Regions from separate parts of the Homo sapiens genome. Here region 1 is linked to region 2. Evidence: promoter capture Hi-C in human tissues and cell types (Jung and others, 2019). All regions are on one chromosome and are shown on one strand. Each heading gives the region's core, a stretch centred on a gene start or on the middle of the fragment in contact. The rest is flanking DNA. Distances are from core to core; before and after follow the strand shown.

What was found. Contacts are between HindIII fragments. The study calls those that stand out against the background at their distance.
Region 1: a contact is called between a fragment that was not itself captured here and the fragment with the promoter of SLC37A3 in region 2, in 1 of the 25 tissues and cell types used here (neural progenitor cells).

What each region holds. Positions count from the first base shown.
Region 1 is chr7:140,246,800-140,254,019 of GRCh38, forward strand. LOC107986854 (a long non-coding RNA gene) reads left to right here. Exons shown (of 2, transcript XR_001745386.2): 2 at 6,757-7,220. Among named protein-coding and RNA genes, the nearest start is that of KDM7A-DT, 73 kb to the left of the region's middle. RefSeq lists enhancers at 5,985-6,034, 6,065-6,134. The HindIII fragment of the contact is 7,260 bases long and covers 2,000-7,220 here.
Region 2 is chr7:140,397,280-140,404,848 of GRCh38, forward strand. It overlaps SLC37A3 (solute carrier family 37 member 3), which reads right to left and starts at 1,251. Exons shown (of 15, transcript NM_207113.3): 1 at 1,137-1,251. RAB19 (RAB19, member RAS oncogene family) reads left to right here and starts at 6,779. Exons shown (of 4, transcript NM_001008749.3): 1 at 6,779-6,938. LOC124901759 (a long non-coding RNA gene) reads right to left here and starts at 7,189. Exons shown (of 2, transcript XR_007060561.1): 1 at 6,906-7,189; 2 at 4,304-5,543. RefSeq lists silencers at 789-1,058, 1,169-1,398 and enhancers at 6,352-6,853, 6,854-7,353. The HindIII fragment of the contact is 36,664 bases long and covers 1-7,569 here.

The sequences.
Region 1 (7,220 bases), core at 4,380-6,879, 150 kb before region 2:
AATCCAGCATGACTTCATTTTGAGTACCTCTGCAAAGACCCTATTTACCACTAAGGTCACATTCAAGGTACCAGGGGCCAGGACGTCAACGTTTCTTTTATTGGGACACAGTGTAACCACAACGTGAATGAAGTGTCCTGATGTCTGAAATATACTTTCAAAGGTCTCGGTAAGAAATTCTGTAGACACAAAGAAGGAGAGGATAGAGAGAGAGGGAAAAAAACCTCAATGTAGTAAAATGTTAATTGTGGAATCTTTGTAGAAGGTATAGGAGTGGTTGCTGTATTCTTTCAACTTTTCTATAAGTTTGAATATTTTCAAAATAAAAGATTGAAGGAAAAGCATAGATTCCTGCTAATTCCCCCCTCCACAGCCCTGTTCTGTTTCCATATGTCTGGGGCAGGGCCCAAGAATATGTTTTTTTGTTTGTTTGTTTTTGAGACGGAGCCTCACTCTGTCACCCAGGCTAGGGTGCAGTGGCGCGATCTCGGCTCACTGCAACCTCCACCTCCCAGCTTGAAGCAACTCTCCTGCCTCAGCCTCCTAAATAGCTGGGATTACAGGTATGTGCCACCATACCTGGCTAATTTTTGTATTTTTAGTAGAGACAGGGTTTCACCATGTTGGTCAGGCTGGTTTCAAACTCCTGACCTCGTGATCTACCCACCTTGGCCTCCCAGTGTGCTGGGGTTACAGGCGTGAGCCACCAAGACTGCATCTCAAAAAAAAAAAAAAAAAAAAAAAAGTTTACTGAAGGAATGGACTCCACAGGATATCTAGATCTAAATGGAATCATTTTTCTCTGACAATAAAAGCTTTTTTGGTACATTTGTAAAGAGTGGCCCAGACAGGGAAAGAAAGAGCTCTGGCCTCCTGACAAGCTTGCTCAGATGGTCAAGCCTCATGCACTCGCCACCATCTGTAGAAGTACATCCTAGCCAGCTGTTCTGTTAACACATACTATAAAAGGCAAGGGCTCTGGGCTCTGCCATCAACTCAGTGTGGAGCCGCAGACACGTCTCCAAGGCCCTCTGTGGCTGCATTTCCTCCAATGGTTGTGAGCCACAGGGACTTGGTTACTAACAGTAGTTAAGATCCTGGGATTTGTAATATCTACTTTTATTTATTTTATTTTATTTTATTTTTTGAGACTGAGTCTCGCTCTGTCACCCAGGCTGGAGTGCAGTGGTGCGATCTTGGCTCACTGCAGCCTCTGTCTCCTGGGTTCAAGTGATTCTCATGCCTCAGCCTCCTGACTATCTGCGATTACAGGTGTTGCGCCACCACACCCAGTTAATTTTTTTTTGTATTTTAGTAGAGATGGGGTTTCACCATGTTGGCCAGGATGGTCTCAAACTCCTGACCTCAGGTGATCTGTCCACCTTGGCCTCTTAATGTGTTGGGATCACAGGTGTGAGCCACTGCGCCTGGCCGATCTACTTTTAAAAAATTATATTTGAGAAGATTTTAGATTATTCCAAAAATAATGTCACTTTAACTTATTTAGATATTCTTACTTGTGTAGGAGAGAAAAGGATGAGTTTACAGTGAGGAATTATGTGTAACCCTGGACTCCCAGGTGGGAGTAAGGGGCTTACATGATCATTGTCCTTCATTCAAAAGTGCAGAAAAAGGTGGGAATCGCTGCTCTGCAGTGTCTGATGGGGCATCATGTTTTTATTTACTCGTTTTTTTAGAGACCAAATTAGAGGCCTGGCACAGTGGCTCACACCTGTAATCCCAGAACTTTGAGAGGCTGAGGTGGACAGATCACTTGAGGCCAGAAGTTCGAGACCAGCCTGGCCAACAAGGCAAAACCCCATCTCTACAAAAAATTAAGAAATTAGTCAGTATGGTGGTTCATGTATGTAGTCCCAGCTACTCGGGAGGCTGGGGTGGGAAGATTGCTTAAGCCCAGGAGGTTGAGGCTGCAGTGAGCCATGATTGTGCCACTGCACTCCAGTCTGGGTGACAAAGCAAGACCCTGTCTCAAATAAATAAATAAATAAGATACTATAAGTAAAATGCCTACCGTGGTTTCTGGCATATTGTAAGTACTCAACAAATAATAGCCACTACTAGTTTAACTTCTTCCATAACTCAATAATGATCTTTCTTTAGTTACTGTTTTTATCAGATAACACATTTGCATTATTTGAAAAGTAAAATAATCTTTAAAATCTTAAAGCAAGCAATTCCTTCCCCACTATTCCCCCCCTTGATTTTCAGAAGCAGCCTCTTTTTAGCTTTCACCAGCTTCTCCAGTTTTCTCCGTTGCATTTATTATCTGTTGTCTTCCTTCTTTGGGAAACAAGGATTTAGCTATCATATATCTTCTCTTCCCCATCCTCCTAATTTGCTTGTGTTGCAATTTCTGGTTTAATCAGTAGCCAGTGTTTATTCTGACAATGCAGCCATTATTCACAGCTGAGCTGCGGAGTGTAACATGATTATATTTCCTATCTGGTACAAACTTTTTCTTGTTTTCCCTGAAGATAAATATTGCCTTATTTTCTATTTGTTCAACTGTCTATGTACCTATTGCTAATTCTTCTCCAGACTCTACTGGAAATGTGAATCTTTGCTCACTGTATTTAGACATAGCAGGTTGTCCTGGTTTCATGTGTTTTTCTAGGAGGCATCCTCAAGTCCTCCATCCCTATCCTCCTGCTCCCAACTCTGCTCTCTTCCCATTTCCTGGGCTTCAAGGCTTCCTCTTTATTTATTCCTTCATTTTCATGGAATATATCATCCTACAGTTTCCTAAGAAAGGCTGCTTGGGCTGGGTGTGGTGGCTCCCACCTGTAATCCCAGCACTTTGGGAGGCTGAGGTGGGTGGATCACTTGAGGCCAAGAGTTCAAGACCAGCCTGTCCAACATGTCAAAACACTGTCTGTACTAAAAATACAAAACTTAGCTGGGTGTGGTGGTGCACACCTGTTATCCCAGCTACTTGGGAGGCTGAAGCACAAGAATTGCTTGAACCCGGGAGGTGGAGGTTGCAGTGAGCAGAGATTGCACCACTGCACTCCAGCCTGGGAGACAGAGCGAGACTCCATCTCAAATAAAAAATAAAATAAAAGAAGAAAGGCTGCTTGGGAGGTTAAAATTTTGAAAGCTTACATTTCTGAAAGTGTCTCTATTCTTCATTCACACTTGCATGTTAGCTTTGAATTCATCATATTCCAGCTTCTAGCGTTGTGCTTGAGAAGAGCAAAGCTATTGCCATTTCTGATCTGTAGTACATAACCTGCTATTTTTTTTTTTATCCTGGAAGCTTTTTAGATCTTATTCATAGTTGTTCTGAAATTTCACAATGTTGTGCCTTGGTAGGGGATTTTTTTTCCATTCATTGCCTTGGATACTCGGGTAGGCCCTTTCAATCTAGAAACATATGGTCTTCCATTTTAGAATTTTTTTTCTTGAATTACTGTTATTTTTTAAAACATTATTTCCTCCTTTCCATTTTCTGTATTCTCTCTTTATGGAACTCCAATTACTCAAATGTCAGACTTCCTAAATTGATGTAGAAGGTCTCTGATTTTCTAACTGTCTTTCTCCTATTTTCTGACCCTTTTTTCCTACTTTCTGTGATTTTTTTTTCAACTTTACCTTCTGACTTTTCTTTTTTCTTCTTTTCTTTTGAGACAGGGTCTCACTCTGTCACCCAAGCTGGAGTGCGGTGGTTTGATCATAGCTCACTGCAGCCTTAAACTTCTAGGCTAAAGCGATCCTCCTACCTTGGCCTCCCAAGTAGGTGGGACAACAGGCATGTGCCACCATGCCTGACAAATTTTTTATTTTTTGTAGTGACAGGGTCTCGCTATGTTGCCCAAGCTGGTCTCGAATTCCTAGGCTCAAGAGATCCTCCTGCCTCAGCCTTCCAAAGTGTTGGGATTACAGGCATGAGCCACCACACCTGACGTCTTGAATTTTTAGTTTCTACTATCACAGCTCAACCTTCCATGAATGCTTTTATTCACTGAATATTCAGTTTTAAGAAACAATATTGGCTGGGTGCGGTGGCTCACGCCTGTAATCCCAGCATTTTGGGAGGCTGAGGCTGGTGGATCACCTAAGGTCAGGAGTTCGAGACCAGCAGGGCCGACTGGCAAAATCCTGTCTCTACTAAAAATATAAAAATTAGCTGGGCGTGGTGGCACATACTTGTAATTCCAGCTACTCGGGAGGCTGAGGGAGGAAAATCCCTTGAACCCGGGAGGCGGAGGTTGCAGTGAGCCAAGATTGTACCACTGCACTCCAGCCTGGGTGACAGAGGAAGACTCCATCTCAAAACAAAACAGAACAAAACAAAGCAAAACAAAGAAAGATTTGCATGTATGATGGAGTGATTTTAGAATGGGGTGATCAGACAGGGGCCAGTCATTCTTGGGGGAATCCCCTATGATACATTTCCATGTCTCTTCTTTTGGTGGTCAGTTTCCTATGGGAGTTCTCTGAACTCCCTCCCCATAGTTATAAATGTGTCTGCCAGTGTCTAGGAGTCAAATATGAGGACAGCACGGGTTGGTACATTGACTTTCATTTCATCCCCCTTCTTTGATACTCATCTTCCACCTTCAGTTGTTCCTAAGTCCAAAGTTCCTCTAACTCAAACTCCCCATACAATAAGTGGTCCGTCTCTGATGAAGGCTGAGAGAAAGTAGTAGCTTGTTGCATAGGCTAAGGGAAGAACTGCAGGGATTAACTCTCATTTTTTTTTGAGATGGAGTCTCGCTCTGTGGCCCAGGCTGGAGTGCAGTGGCACCGTCTTAGCTTACTGCAACCTCTGCCTCCCAGGTTCAAATGATTCTCCTGCCTCAGCCTCCTGAGTAGCTGGGAATACAGGCATGCACCACCATGCCTGGCTAATTTTTGTATTTTTAGTAGAGAGGGGGTTTCACCATGTTGGCAAGGCTGGTCTCAAACTCCTGACCTCAAGTGATCTGCCCGCCTTGGCCTCCCAAAGTGCTGGGATTACAGGCGTGGGCCACCGTGCCCAGCCTTAACTATTGCTTAAGAAAACTTTTTATTTTTATTTTTTTCTTGCCCTGTTGCCTAGGCTGGAGTGCAGTGGACCGAGCATGACTCACTGCAGCCTCAACCTCCTGGGCTCAAGTGATCCTCCTGCCTCAGCCTACTGAGTAGCTGGGACCACAGGTGTGCATCACCAGCCCCTGGCTAATTTTTGTGTTTTTTGTAGAGATGGGGTCTTACTATGTTGCCCAGGTTGGAAGAAAACTTTTAATCAGTGCTCTAGTTTTCAGCCGCAGCCATGCCTTTTCAGAAGTATCTGGTACCTCCAATTCCTAAGCCTTTGGGGTGTTTCAGAGGCATGGATTGGCTTGTTTTCTTGGCTTCCCCATTTTGAGACCCTTTACTCTGGTGTGTGAGGTTCATTATCTCTCAAATTTCCAGCTTAAAAATCTTTTTGATCCTTCTCTTTGCTCTTACCTCTCTTATGGACTTATGCTTTTCAAAAAAAGTCTCTTGCCTCACATTTTAGTGGGGTTTTGGGAGGAGGCCCAGGAGTATGCACATGTTCAACCGGCTATGTTTAATGGGAAGTCCTCCGAGCCCACAGAGTTTTCAACTCTCGTTTTATTGAACTAGGCCTCCTCATATAAACCTATGTCCAGTTTTAAAATGGAAGTCAAGTAAAAATGTGATTTGATTCACATAGTTTTAAGAACAGCTTTTATTTATTTATGTATTTATTTTTTGAGATGGAGTCTGGCTCTTTCACTCAGGCTGGAGTGCAGTGGTGTGATCTCGGCTCACTGCAACCTCTGCCTCCTGGGTTCAAGCGATTCTCTTGCCTCAGCCTCCTGAGTAGCTGGGACATCAGGCGTGCACCATCATGCACAGCTAATTTTTGTATTTTTAGTAGAGACGGGGTTTCACCATGTTGGCCAGGCTGGTCTCGAACTCCTGACCTTGTGATCCACCTGCCTTGGCCTCCCAAAGTGCTGTGATTACAGGTGTGAGCCACCACGCCTGGCCTAAGAACAGCTTTTAGAGATGCTTTTGGCCTATGTGGCTAGATATGAATTCTCACTCTGAGTATAATTGTCTGACTGTCATGTGTTGACTGTGTACACACAGCTCAAACCCAGAGTCCAGCCTTGTCTCTTCTGATGAAATACCAGTGCCCACAAACAGAAGGTTCCCCTTCTCTCACCCATGAATAAACAGGAAGGTCTCTTGGAGCTGTGGTCTTGGGGCTGTAGCCCTGCCCCTAATTTCCTCAGACCCTTTACTGAGAACTGAGTCATTGCAACATCATGCTCAGCCAGCTGTCTCAGCACAAGAAAAAGCTTTGCTGTGGTATGAGGTTTTGTGGGCTGCAGACTACATCTAGGTCAGCAAATTAAACTCCATAGTGTGGTTACCAATTCCAGCTTCATCTAGCTTAAGGGCTGTCTGATTTCACCCTCTGGGCATTGGCTCTTCTGGTGTTTGGGATATAAGGCCCCTCTGTGGGTGTTTAAGGCACAATATTTCAGGCCTAAACCACCGAATGACACATGCCTAAACCCAGAATCCTGTATTCTCCACCAGGACTCCAGGGTATGTGAGGGTAACAATAGTCCAACCCTGCAGATAATGAGATTTGTGTGTGTGTTAGAACAAAGGGGAAAGGTGGGGATGTATTTCTTTGATGCTCAGTTTCATCTACCACTTGTATTTCTCTCCTGCCCTTCTTTGACCCTAACATGATCCAAACCCTTCTTTCTTGCTTCTCTTTTATGGAAGTTTTGAAGAATGGATGGTTACATAACAGATGGCCAGCTGGTCTACCTAGAAGGGCCTTACAAAGGACAGTGCCTCCGTGGGGAAGGCTCACCCTGGATCAGACGCCGGATTGCAGATTTACCATGAATGAAGCCCTTGGAGACTGAATCATGTTAAAAATTCAAAAACAACTCAGTAAATATTTATTTGAAGTCCTGCTGTTCTTCAAGGCCCTGGAATGCAGATATGAGAAGAGTCACTGCTGCCCAAGAGCTGACTGACTGTGGAGGAAGACCATGCTAGCAGGTGGCTACGTTTTCTACCACCTAGCACCTGCTCCCCCTTCTCCTGGTAATGGTATCTGCAAATAATCTCCTCAGTCTGTGTGCTTTCAGTGGAACTGAATCTACCCCTGGTTCAAGAGCTCAGGTACAGCCTCTGGCCTGGCTGCAGTGATTAGTTTAGAGATGGACTTGTAACCTCAT
Region 2 (7,569 bases), core at 1-2,500:
GCCTCCCAGGTTCAAGCGATTCTCCTGCCTCAGCCTCCCGAGTAGCTGGGATTACAGGCATGCGCCACGACGCCCAGCTAATCTTTGTATTTTTAGTAGAGACGGGGTTTCACCATGTTGGCCAGGCTGGTCTTGAACTCCTGACCTCAAGGAATCCACAGGCCTCGGCCTCCCAAAGTGCTGGGATTACAGGCATGAGACACCGCGCCCAACCCGAAGCTCAATTTCCTCATGTATTAATTAAATGAGATAATTTATATGGAGTTCTTAGTATAGAGCCTAGTATCCAAGAAACATCAAACAAACTGAAAAGAAATCATTTAAGCACCAAAGCACTGAAGACATTCCCTTCAACAACTGTTATATATATTTATGTATGTATAAATTTGTGTAAAGGTAGAAATAAACCGGTGGACAAAAAGATAACAACTGAATGATTTTGCTCACCCCAGGAACCACTCCTCCCTATAAACTATAAACTTTTCAGTAAGAGTTACCACGAGATAGCCTACCATCTTACATTTCAAAAAAACACTAAAAACTCCGGGGACACATTCCCATTATCTCCTGTCAAAACTGAGAATAAACAGAACACACCCTGCGAAGAATAAGGAGGGAATGACGAATAATTTGACCAAATTCCTTGACTGAGTTCATGCTAGTTACCAGAAAACAAAACCAGTCACTCACTGAGACCACGCTTCTTCTCTGACCTCTATACATCCTTTCCAAAGAGCTTCCTTCCCCACCTACCTGAAAAGCATCCCCTCTCCCCTGGTCCGAACGACAAGCCCTTTTCTGATCAAGTCAGAATCTCCCAGACCCACGGCCGGAGGACAGGCGGGCGAGGAGCACAAAAGCCTCTGCCGCATGGATCGGGGCCGGGCCGCAGGGTCCCCCGGGGGTCCTTCTCCTCCCCATCCACCCCATCGCAGCCTCCCCGTGACGGCCGGGACCCCAGGCCCGGGCCCAGGGAGGAGAAGGAGGGGGCGAGCGGCCGACCCTGCCTGGGCGCCCCACCCAAGGGGGGCCGCCACCTACATCTCCCCACCGCCCTCCCGACCCGGGAAGCCCCTCGGATTGGACCCGCCCCCGCCCCAGCAGGTCTTCGGCCCCACGCATCACCGCTTGCGCACCCGAGATCCGCAGTGGTCGCCGCTCTCCAGCCCCGGCTCCGCTCGCCGGGTCAGCTTGGCTCCGCTGCCCGCCTCCCCCGCCGCCAGCTCACCCCTGGCGGTGCGACCAGGGTTTCCGGACGCCCACGTGACCCTCCCGTCGCGGGGCACGCTGGGAGTTGTAGTCCCGCCACGCGGCCTCACCTGCCGGCGCGGAGGAGGGCGAGGAGGGCGGAGGCTGGGAGCCCACAGAACTCTGCTGCTGCGGACCTGGCCAGTAATGTTAGCTGCAAAAGACGAGAGGTAGAGAGAAGAAATGATATGGGGAGAACTGGTGCATCCTTTTTTTTTTTTTTTTTTTTTTTTTTTCAAAAAAGCGGTATTCGGTCTTTGTTTTTATAAAAAGTAACGTGCTGCTAAGTGTGCTACTGACCGGCCTAAATTTTAGGTGTCTAATTAAATGCAGGCCGGGCACAGTGGGCTCACGCCTGTAATCCAACACTTTAGGAGGTCGAGAAGGGAGGATCACTTGAACCCAGTAGTTCAAGACCAGCCTTAGCAACATAGCCAGACCCCATCTCTACAAAAAATGTTAAAATTAGCCAGGAGTAGTGGCATGTGCCTGTGGTCCCTGCTACTGGGGCGACCGAGGTGCGAGGATCGCTTGAGCCCAAAAGTTTGAGGCTGGCAGCTGTGATTGCTCCACTGCACCAGCCTGGGCAACAGAACGAGACCCTGCCTCCAAAAAAAAAAAATCCAACACAAGTGTCTCACACCTGTAATCCTAACACTTTGGGAGGCCGAAGTAGGAGCATCATTTGAGAACAAGAGTTTGAGACCAGCCTGGGCAAGGTAGTGAGAGCCGCCCCCCATCCACCACCACCACCGCCGCCACCGTTTCTTAAATAAAGGGAAAAAATACAGACACTTGTTCGAATTTTAAAGAAAAAAAACTTCTCTTAATCCAGAAAATCTCCACAACAACCATTACATACCTGTTCTCAAGATAAACAATCACTAGTCTTCAAATAACAGAACTTGACAACACCTTTTGTCAAACATAGTTCCTCCTTACTTAATAGTAGTAATTGGGGAGACCACTCATGTTGGCTTTATCCAGAAGCAAAACAAACTTCGCATAACTTTTTGTTGTTGTTGTTCGTTTTTTAAACTTCGCATATCTTTTTGTTTGTTTGTTTTTTGTTTTTGAGACGGAGTCTTGCTCTGTTACCCAGGCTGGAGTGCAGTGGCGTGATCTCAGCTCACTGCAAGCTCCGCCTCCCGGGTTCAAGGGATTCTCCTGCCTCAGCCTCCCGAATAGCTGGGACTACAGGCGCCCGCCACCACGCCTGGCTAATTTTTTTGTATTTTTAGTAGAGACGGGGTTTCACCGTGTTAGCCAGGATGGTCTCGATCTCCTGACCTCGTGATCTGCCCTCCTTGGCCTCCCAAAGTTCTAGCATTACAGGTGTGAGCCACCGCAGCCGGCCAAAGTTCGCATATCTTTATAGCAGGAGGTAGTTTTACAAATTGGAGCAAGGCGCCCATACCCACTAATTTAGTCTCTTACCCTCATGTAGGAACTGGAAGATACAGGCACTAACTCACGTCTGAATTTCAAAAAGATGACCCCCAAGTCCTTGAGGATACATTTCTGAGTTGTGATACTGGCAAGAGGCTCATTTCGCCGTTATAAAGATTTGTGTACATTCGAAAAGGACAGAGAAAGAAATTTTGAAGGAACAGAGAGAAGGCTGAGAAGTCTCTTTATTTTCAGCAGAGGAATTAAGCCTGTTATTTTTCATTTTTATTTGCCCTTATACAGTGGTAGTTTTGTTTCTAGCCCTTATACAGTGGTAGTTTTGTCTCTAGGCATCCAAGGAGAAATATGATGTCAGGGTGAGCAAAAATAAATGAGCCAAATATGTTACTTTTATTTTTAAAAATATATTGTGAATCGTTTATTTTTCAGCCTAAAAAAGGTAGCAAATTCTGACACATACTACAACATAGACGAACCTTCAAAAACATTATGCTAAGTGAAATAAGTCAGACATAAAAGGACCAGTACAGTACAGTTCCACTTATATGAGGTAGCCAGAGTAGTGAAATTCATAGAGTCAGAAAGTAGCATGGTGGTTGCCCATGGCTGGAGGGAAGGGGAAATGAGAAATTGTTGTTTAATGGCTATGGAGTTTCCGTTTGGGATGCCAAAAAAGTCCTGGAGATGGATGGTGATGTTGGTTGCACAACAATGTATTTAATGCCATTGAATTGTACACTTAAAAACGGTTAAAATGGTAAATATATATACATAGAGTGAAATACATAGTTTTTTGTGTTATATTTACATATGGGTGTATACATATATATGTGTGTGTGTATACTTCAAGTATATAACCTGTGTCACCACCACTCAGGGCTAGAATGCCTTCTTAGCCATGTGGTGGTGTGTATCTTTAATCCCAGCTACTAGGGAGGTTGAGGTAGGAGGATCACTTCAGCCGCACCTTTGGAGGCTGCAGTGAGCTATGATCGTACCACTGTGCTCCAGCCTGGGTGACAGAGGGAGACCCAGTCTCTTAAAAAAGAAAAAACAGTGTATATATACACACACATTTATACATATGAATGCCTTCTTTCCTGTAGCCCAAGCTATGCTCTTTGTATTTATAGTGACCTTGGTGGAGAGGGTTGGGTGGTAGACAGAGGTAAGATCTCTCTCCCCTTGACTTCCAAAACCATCAGGATATTTAAATATTTGTAACATTTGTTTTCTACCTGTAGATGTTCTCCAAGTGCTCAGTGGGTCTGAGTCAGGTGACTTTTTTTTTAAACAGTAACCACCCCAGGTGCGGTGGCTCACCCCTATAATCCCAGCACTTTGGAAGGCCGAGGCAAGTGGATCACCTGAGGTCAGGAGTTCCAGACCAGCCTGGCCAACATAGTGAAACCCCATCTCTACTAAAAATACAAAAATTAGCTGGACGTGGTGGCGGGTGCCTGTAATCCCAACTACTCGGGAGGCTGAGGCAGGAGAATCGCTTGAACCCGGGAGGTGGAGGTTGCAGTGAGCCAAGATCGCACCATTGCACTCGAGCCTGAGTGACAAAAGCTAAACCTTATCTCAGGAAAAAAAAAAAAAAAGTAACCATTACCAGAAGAAAGACAACATTTGGACACTGAACTTCATGACACTGACACCTAACAGGTTTTATTTCCTGATCACACATTTGGGGCGAATCTTTACCTACACTGGATTTCCACATTGTGCTGGTGGTTCTCACCCTGCAGCAATATTTGGCAGAGTCTTTTGTTTTCTTGCTATACCTGCCAGTGTTGAGTTTATCTCACTCAGAAGAGAGTATCCTGAAAATGGATATGTAACTGGAATTTTGGGTAAGACAAATATTTTCAAATTTATCTGAAGACATCATAGAAGTAATGTTCTTGGACAGTGAATAAATTGCCCTGTATTTCAGTGCTTCTCAAACGTTGCGGACCCCAGCCTACAGTTAAAAAGACATTTCAGGCCAGGCACGGTGGCCCACGCCTGTTATCCCAGCACCTTGGGAGGCTGATGTGGGAGGATTGCTTGATCCCAGGAGTTCGAGACCAGTCTGGGTAACAAAGTGAGGCCCTGGCTCTACAAAAAAATGAAATAAATAGCTGGGCATGATGGTGCACACCTGTAGTCCCAGATATACAGGAGGCTAAGGCAGGAAGATTGCTTGAGCCCAGGAGGTTGAGGCCGCAGTGAGCCATGACGGTGCCACTGCACTTCAGCCTGGGAGACAAAGTGAGACCCTGTCTCAAAAAAAACATTTTTTTTTTACATCACCCTGTAAAATATGCATGTGTACAACTGACCCAAACATTTTGCAAAACAGTAGTCACTGTTACTACACAAGATACATTCTGAAGTTGTTTCTTAATCCCTTCTTGTGAAAATGCTGGTTGCAACCCACAAAGGTTGATTTCATGACTCATTTATAGGTCTCAGCCCACAGTTTGGAAACAGGACACCGATGTAAATATTTTATCCAACAGGGTGTCTCTGTTTCAATTTTGCTTATTGTGTCTATAATGCCATTTAACTGCCTACATATCACATCCTATGTAGTGGAGAAAATCTGGTCCCTGTGATAGACATTGGGAGGCAGTTACTGTTCTAGACTCTGGGGAAAAAATAGTAAGGAAAATTCACCTCAGCTTTATGCTTCTACTGCCAGCATCTGGGACTGATAAACTTGAGGTTTTCTGGACGTCAACCTTTGCTCTATGGTAGAATTTTTGAGGGAGTGAGGCAGACATTTTCTTTTCAGCTTTTTCTTCTCATATACCTTCAAAGTTCTTTTAGTTTTGTTTTTGCTTCCTTCTCTTTGCATCATCTCCTTTCTCTGACTCCTCACAAAGAGATATTCAGATCTACAAAACAAAGACTTAAATTACTTACAATCTGGCCAGGTACGGTGGTTTCATGCCTTGTAATCCCAGCACTTCGGGAAGCCAAGGCAGGAGGATCACTTGAGCCCAGGAGTTTCTTCTCTTTTTTTCTTTTTTTTTTTGAGACGGAGTCTCACTCTGTCACCCAGGCTGGAGTGCAGTGGCGCGACCTTGGCTCACTGCAACCTCCACCTCGCAGGCTCAAGCGATTCTCCTGCCAGAGTAGCTGGGATTATAGGCTCACCACCAGACCCGGGTAATTTTTGTATTTTTAGTAGAGATGGGGTTTTGCCATGTTGGCCAGGCTGGTCTCGAACTCCTGACCTCAGGTGATCTGCCCACCTCAGCCTCCCAAAGTGCTGGGATCACAGGCATGAGCCACCATGCCTGGCCAAACCCAGGAGTGTCAAACCACCATGGGCAACATAGGGAGATCCCAGCTCTAAAAACAATAAATAGTGGGGCATGGTGGTGTATGACTGTAGTCCCAGCTACTTGGGAGGCTGAAGTGGGAGGCTTCCTTGAGCCTGGGATGTTGTGGCTGCAGTGAGCCATAATTATGCCTCTGCACTCCAGCCTGAGCCATAGAGCAAGACCCTGTCTCTAAAAAATATGTATATATAATAAAATAAATTACTTAAGATCTATATCCTCCTTTAGTTGGTGTTATCTCAACTAACAACCCTCAGGCCAGCTGTAGTCCCAGATATTCAGGAGGCTGAGGCAGGTGGATTGCTTGAGCCCGGGAGGTTGAGGCTGCAGTGAGCCATGAATGGTGCCACTGCACTTCAGCCTGGGTGACAGAGTGAGACCTTGTCTCCAAAAAAAAAAAAAAAATTTTTTTTTTACATCACCCAGTACAATATGCACATGTACAACTGACCCAAACATTTTGCAAAACAGTCGCTGTTACTACATGAGATACATTCTGAAATTGTTTCCTAACAAGGGACACCAGGACAAATTGAGAGCAAAGGACGCAAAAGCCCACAAGACAAGGTAAAGTAGAAGAAAGGAGCAGGGGCAGTGTCGTATGGGCCAGCACTGGTTTAATTCACTGGCTGTTCCTTCCTGTGAGGGCTTTCCGCTAGGCCGGCGAAGGCTGGTGAGAAAGCCGGCTCTGCGCCCTGCCCTGTGCTGGCCGCCCTCACCTGGCGCTTTGTACCCTGAGGCAGCTCCGGACTCAGGGCAGGTGGGAGGGATTGCACTTTCCTTTCACTTTCTCAGGACGCCAAACCCGACACCTGGGGCCAGAACTACACTTCCCACCAAGCAGCGAGGCAGGAGGAAGAAGGGGGCACTGGGGGGCTGAAAAGCAAACCCAGAAGAAAGCGAAAACATTACCTGCTGACCAGCAGAGGTGAGAGAGCGAGACAGGTAAGCGACAGGTGAACCAGGAAGGCGAAGGCTGCGGGATGCCGGCGGGAGGACATCATCGGGGTGGACGCTGCCTGTGCCTCCCAGCAAGGCTTGTAGGCTCAATGAAAGGGGGCTTTAGTGGAAACCCTGAGGACTCCTGAGGGTGGGGGGAGACATGGAAGTAAAGTCTCAGCTCAAGTTACAGTGATAAGACCAAGACACCGGAAGTGGAATGGCTGTCTTTAGTTGAAAAGTCAGACAGGAAAAAAGTGGTTTGATTGTGTCTGTTGTCTGCTGGATCATCTACCCATATGTGATTTCAGAGAGGTCCAAGAGAGGTATGGGATCCTTCTTCATCGCCTTAAAGCCCTGGGTTTTTGCATGCAGATTGGACATTTGAGTGCATTTTACCTTGTGTGATGAGACAGAGTGTCCTTGTCTATGACTTTAGAGAAAACCAAAGTAAAACGGAGAGGTGAAGAAGGATGTCACAAGGCAGGGGCAATTTGCAGCACATCAAATGTAATCATTAAGTGGGATCAGGTTTCAGTTACTTTTAGAGCAATTGGATGAGGAGTCCGAACACACTCTCAGGAAGAACAGTTAAAGAGGATGGGGATATTCTCCTTGGGGGAATATTCTTGCTGCT